Linked DNA regions of Homo sapiens: region 1 is linked to region 2. Evidence: promoter capture Hi-C in human tissues and cell types (Jung and others, 2019). All regions are on one chromosome and are shown on one strand. Each heading gives the region's core, a stretch centred on a gene start or on the middle of the fragment in contact. The rest is flanking DNA. Distances are from core to core; before and after follow the strand shown. Region 1 overlaps ITSN2 (intersectin 2). Region 2 holds the start of PFN4 (profilin family member 4).

What was found. The method cuts DNA at HindIII sites, captures the fragments that hold promoters and counts their contacts. A contact is called where the count stands out against the background at its distance.
Region 1: a contact is called between a fragment that was not itself captured here and the fragment with the promoter of PFN4 in region 2, in 1 of the 25 tissues and cell types used here (H1 embryonic stem cells).

What each region holds. Positions count from the first base shown.
Region 1 is chr2:24,284,250-24,287,422 of GRCh38, reverse strand. It overlaps ITSN2 (intersectin 2), which reads left to right. Exons shown (of 40, transcript NM_006277.3): 16 at 1,072-1,211; 17 at 2,580-2,660. Among named protein-coding and RNA genes, the nearest start is that of ITSN2, 75 kb to the left of the region's middle. The HindIII fragment of the contact is 4,001 bases long and covers 1-3,173 here.
Region 2 is chr2:24,121,725-24,124,929 of GRCh38, reverse strand. PFN4 (profilin family member 4) reads left to right here and starts at 1,596. Exons shown (of 5, transcript NM_199346.3): 1 at 1,596-1,812; 2 at 2,383-2,511. The coding sequence starts at 2,395. FAM228B (family with sequence similarity 228 member B) reads right to left here and starts at 1,461. Exons shown (of 11, transcript NM_001145710.2): 1 at 1,397-1,461; 2 at 470-600. The coding sequence starts at 568. RefSeq lists an enhancer at 710-959 and a silencer at 1,030-1,529. The HindIII fragment of the contact is 15,112 bases long and covers 1-3,205 here.

The sequences.
Region 1 (3,173 bases), core at 584-3,083, 160 kb before region 2:
AACTCCTGTACAGAAACTGAGAGTAGAAGAGTGGTTACCAGGGGTTAGAGGGAGGGGAAAATGGGTAGATGTTGATCAGTGGGTTCAGACCAACATCTACCCATACCAGTCAGAAAGGTAGTTATATAAATTATGCAGTAGCCATAATGTAAACTACTATGGAGCAATTTAAAAGAATGAACTAGATCTGTTTGTCCTGATTGATAAGATATCTTACTAAATTGAAAACAAGTTGCATAGCAATGTAGACAATATGATTCTGTTAAAACCCATGGAAATAAAAGTTGAGTATGTACACATCTAAATGTAAATGCCTAAAAGGGGGATGAACTTGCAGTTGAAATGGAGGTGTTTTAATTTTTTACTCTGTATGTTTCATTTTATTTAAATTTTGTACTTCTGTACTTCAAAAATATGATAAAGTTAAAAACAGACATTTAAACAGATAATATTGCTATTTTAATTTATTGTAATGTATTCTGCATTATATATTTCCATCTGGTTTCTTCATCCCTGCATGAATATGTAAAAAAAGATAATATAAAATGAAACCTTCTGTTCTTACCTCCTAAAATAATGTTACTAAATAATCCAGTTAGTAATACTTACTGAATCTTTGCTGTGAATATTTCCCTGTTCTTGGGAGCACTAAGAATAAATGGAAAGCTACTTTAACTATAGTTTCTATTAATTGAGTATTAACTGTGGACCAGAGTGTACAATGGCTTTATATCCATCACCTCATTTAATGTAGCATGATGCTCATTGTATAGATGAAAAGCCTGAGGATTCGATTGGTGAAGCATCTTTCCTAAAGTAGAATTTCACTTCAGGTCCTAGTCCTTTTGAATGCAGAACCAAGGCTTACAACCATTTCCTCTGATGCTCTTTCCAGCATATAATCTGGGAAGTGGAAATAACAACTGAATGTTTTCTCTTGTACTGGTCTGCATTGTGTATACATCCTTCGTATTGGTCTAGTTACATCAATCTGACCAAACAGTAAATGACATGCTGGTAATGACATACGAACTTCTGCAAAATGTAAACTGTCTGATGTTTGTTTTTCAGATTCAGGGGTCAGTTTACTTCATAAAAAATCATTAGAAAAGGAAGAATTATGCCAAAGACTTAAAGAACAGTTAGATGCTCTTGAAAAAGAAACTGCATCTAAGCTGTCAGAAATGGATTCTTTTAACAATCAACTAAAGGTATTTATTTTTGATACTATTTATTTTTAGGTAACTGCCTTCTTACCTTCATTATTTTGATTTAATAGAATAAATAGCTAAAGCTATTATATGTATTACATTTTCATAATTTATTTTATAATTTCAACTATACAAGAATTTCAAGATTGTTTTTAATGTTCTAGTTATATGACATAGTGTCATATAACTAAACATATACTTTATCACAGTTTCCAATTTTTGATGACTATGTGCTGTTTGTCTTGGCATCTATACATTTCCAGAACAATTGCCTTTGTCAGTATTACAGAACTGATCTCAGCCAGCGTTATCCTAGGCAATTTTCAAAAATGAGAAATATGGAAAATTTGAAATAGTTTAGGTGTTAGTGGCTCTTTTAACACAGTTTTTATTTTGTTTCCTTGTGAAGTGTAATTTAATTAACCTTTGTTAAATAATGCAATAATCAGTGAAATCTAGAACAGAATCTGGCACTATAAACTTTGCACAAAAAGCAAGTTAATGATTCATTGTTTGCCGCAGTGGCAGAGCAGATGTCCAAAACATAGACTGTCTGCATATCATTCACCACAGTATTCATTGTACACTGAAGCCATACCTATGAAAGAAACTAAAAACCCAGGCTCATGGCATAGAATGTAAATTTGGGAATAGTCTCAGTTATTCCTTTGCTAACAATATAAAGTTTCCAGAGCATAAGCTATTCTCTGTAAGAAATAAAGCTTTTCATAAAGCTTTTGTATAAGAAATCTCTCTCTTCATATGGCTTTTATCATGCTGACTTATTTAGAATAACATTAACAGCAAATATAGAGTAAACAGCATGCTAAAGAAAGGACAACATGGTGGCTTCAGGTAAGGAAAGGGAATTTGAGGTGAACAATGTTAATAATACACTTTACACAAGCATATGTTCAGTAGAAAAAAATTTTATAGAAAACCAAATCATTTGTCATTGCTGGTTAGACAAGCCAGCCAACTTATCTTCCCTATATTATTTCTTTAAAAAATCTACATAACTGGGCATGGTGGCTCATGCCTGTAATCCCAGCACTTTGAGAGGCTGAGGCGGGCGGATCACGAGGTCAAGAGATCGAGACCAGCCTGGGCAACATGGTGAAACCCCATCTCTACTAAAAATACAAAAATTAGCTGGGCGTAGTGGCATGCGCCTGTAGTCCCAGCTACTCGGGAGGCTGAGGCAGGAGAATCGCTTGAACCCGGGAGGTGGAGGTTGCAGTGAGCTGAGATTGCGCCACTGCAGTCCAGCCTGGCGACAGAGTGAGACTCCATCTCAAAAAAAAAAAAAAAAAAAAAAAAAAATTCTGTACGTAGTTTAATTGGCTTTTTATCTGCCTTATCTTACAGTGTGGGAATATGGATGACTCTGTTCTTCAGTGCCTTTTGTCTCTGCTAAGCTGTCTCAACAACCTCTTCCTCTTACTTAAGGTTATTTTCTAATATCTAGCTTCTTTTCTTTGAGTTACTTTGCTGTTTTATTTTTTTAAAACTAGACTATTCTTTGCCTTTATCTGAGTATCTTTGTTTGAAATAACATATACAATATAAGCCTTTTTCTTTCTGCTTGCTTGAATATCCTTCTGCTATCTGACTGCCTGTTTGAGTCTAATGCCAGAAGTCAGTAAGGTTGCCTGTCACAGTAACCTTTCTCAAAAGAAGTCCAGGACACTTAGAAATATAACCTGGTTCCTTTACAACATCCCTGGGAGTGGGTTAACTGATAAAGATGATTACTAACTCAATTCAAAGGAAAATGTGAGATTAAATCACTTACCCATATCACTGAAAATCAGTGTTTAAAATAAAACTTAATACTTTATGAAATCTAGGGCAAGTTTATGTCATATATGCACCAAGCTGCTTCCTAATACTGTTGTAAGGACAATTTTAAAGAACCAATAATGCAGGGGCAACTTTAGTCAGGTCTAGTTACCAGGCTCA
Region 2 (3,205 bases), core at 347-2,846:
AGGAGTTGGGGACCAGCCTAGGCGACACAGTGTAGAGATTTTTTGTATCTCTACAGAAAATACAAAAATTAGCCAGACATGGTGGCGTGCGCCTATACTTCCAGCTACTAGGGAGTGGAAGGATGGCTTGATTCCAGGAGGAAACATAGCAAGACCCTGTCTCAAATATAAATAAATAAATAAATACATCATATCAAAATTTGGGTGATGCAGCTAAGGCAGTACCTCAAGAGAAACTTATAGCTATGTTACATTTTAAAAGGTATATAATCAATGACCTATGATTCCACCTTAAGATGTTAGAAAAAAACAGCAAAGTGAATATACAAAGTTAGTAAAGTGAAGGGAATAATAAACAGAATGAAATAAAAACAAACAATAGAAAAAACAATATATTTAGCACAAGCCACTTCCTACTGCAACGATCCAAGTAAAAAAATCTCCAAATCCCACACTATTTGATATATACCTCCATAAAACAAAGGGGCTTGGGCTCCAACCATTCTTTTGAGCTCTTGAGCTTGGGAAGTGTGCCAGTTACCAGATCATCACTGTCTACATTTTTCATTGTGGTCACAAATAACAATGCCCCTGGAAAAACTAAAAATCATCTTATTTAGTATTGAACATTTCACAGTCATCTGATTTTCTCTTCTGTTTAATACCACCTGTGTCCTTGCACACACGCAAAATGGATTTTGAACACTAACCATCCAGTTTCCCTAACAAGAGGCCTTCACTACAGACTCCAGATGACGGCTTCAGAGCCAGCCTCCTTTATAAGCAGGCGAGATGCTCTTTGAAAGAATCCCCCGTCCCTTGGAATGGATTCCCACGTCCCCCTCCAAGGCAGCCCATTCCAGCCAGTGTGGCAGCTTCAGCCTGGCCTCTCGGAGTCCCATTTGCAACACTTTTCTGACTTTGGTGGCCTCGAGTGGGAAGAACTGCAACTTTCTGGCCACAGAAACACAGGCTGAGCTGCTTAGAGAAGGCAGGGAGGGGCTTTCGGTCATACTGCGCGAGTCTTCGAGCTCTGAGCGGCTCGAAGTCCTCCCCGAGGCACGGGTGCGACGGGGATGTCGTAGGCGTCCGCACCCGCTCTCGCTCATCGCGCCCACTCCCGGCCCTTCCTCCCACCCACTAGGCCGGGCGCCTGCGGCCTCCACGCCAGCCCCGGGCCGGGGGCCTCCCGCGCAGGCGCGTCGTGCGCGGGGACCGCCCGGCCTGGCGGGGAGGTCGCCGGCCGCGACAGGCACCTCTCTGCCCTCCCAAGGCCAGCAGGCCCGCGGCCGTCCTGCTACACACTCGGGCCCGGCCCGACGACCCCGGAGCCGTCCGACTGCGGCTGGAAGGGAGCCCGCCCGCGTCTGCGGAACGCGCGAATGTTGGCGCCCACCGTCTCCCGGACGCAGCGCCGCGCGAGCACTCCGCCCCCTGCGCCGCGGGTTCCACAGCGAGTCCGCGCGGGCGGTGCCGGGGCGGCGGAGGACGGCTTCAGGCCCAAAGGGGATTGGGCGGCGGCTCTAGGTGGCGGGTCTTGGTTTGCGGAAGGGGCTGGAGTCGCTGCTTCTCGGTGACCGGCGCGTGGCCCGGCCAATCCTGCCGCCGCCACCCACCCGCAACCGCGTCCGTTGACGGTCGGGTCCTTGGTCGCCGGGTCCTTGCGGGCACCACAGAGCGGGGTGGCGTCCGCTCCCTCGAGTCCTCGGTGCCAGGGAATTCACCGCTCACCACCCCCTGCCCCGCCTTGGGTCCTGCTCGGGGACCAAACCACTGGAAGGCAGTGGCGGGAAACGGGCGCCTGTGCCGGAGGTCCTGATGAGGGGGGTCCAAGGCTTGGGGACTTGTGCGGGAAATGTGGGTTTAAGTGCCTTCAAGGTGTTTTTAGTCCATTGGGATGTTGATCAGCGTTCATAGCTGGCGCTGATGCAGGTCACCGGGAAGGGAATGTGTGGGTTTATGGCCACGCATAATCTCTTTTAGTCGTGTTTAACTTAGCAGGGTAGCTCTCCATCCTGGCTGGGTTTTGTTTTTTGTTTTTATTTTTTATTTTACAGAGTTTTTCTCAGTGTGTAATGTTTGTTTTTAAATCGCAGATAATCCTGATGTAAACCATTGACATAGCCAGAAAATCACCAGGCTGTGATTTTCCAAACTCAGCTTCATAACCTATTCTGTGTGAGCTGTGATTTTTCTATGATTCTGTTTTCCTCTTTGGGTACTGGTGGGCCCTGAATGATGGACCACCGTTTTCACCCTGTACCTTTTCAAAGTACACTTGCTGATCTTAGAACTGTCTGCAGTGTCTTAAGGACATTTGTATTCACATGCCTTTTAAAAGCTAGCCAGAGTCAATGGCTTCAACTGCACTTTCCCTTTCAGAGTTGAGGGAACATGAGCCATTTGCAGAGCTTATTGTTAGACACCCTCTTGGGAACCAAGCATGTGGACAGTGCAGCCCTCATCAAAATCCAGGAGCGGAGCTTGTGTGTAGCATCACCAGGTTTCAATGTAAGAAAAAACAAGTTTGGACCTAAGACTTGATTTACTTATTATTTCTATTCTTCCAAAAAATGAAGCAGACATGACTTTTTTTTTTTTTTGAGACGGAATTTCACTCTTGTTGCTTAGCCTGGGATGCAATGGCATGATCTCAGCTCACTGCAACCTCCGCCTCTCAAGCGATTCTTGAGCCTTAGCCTCCCGAGTAGCTGGGATTACAGGAGTGCGCTACCAGGCCCGGCTAATTTTTGTATTTTTAGTAGAGATGGTGTTTTACCATGTTGGTCAGGCTAGTCTCAAACTCCTAACCTCAGGTGATCCACCTGCCTCGGCCTCCCAAAGTGCTGGGATTACAGGCATGAGCCACCGTGCCCAGCCCAGACATGACTTTTAAATGAACTTTTTCTGTAAAGAGCTACATAAATATTTTAGGTTTCTAGGCTTAGTCTTTTTACTGTTGATATAAAGGAATACCTGAAGCTGGGTAATTTATAAAGAAAAGAGGTTTATTTGGCTCACAGTTCTACTGCCTGGAAGACTGGTCATCTGTGAAAGCCTCAGGCTGCTTCCACTCATGGCAGAGGTGAAGGGGAGCCAGCATGTGCAGAGATCACAGTGGGGGAGAGGAAGCAAGAGAGAGCAAGTGGAGAGGTGCCAGGCTCTTTCTAAGAGCCAGCTCTCCTGGAACAAATACAGTGAAAAC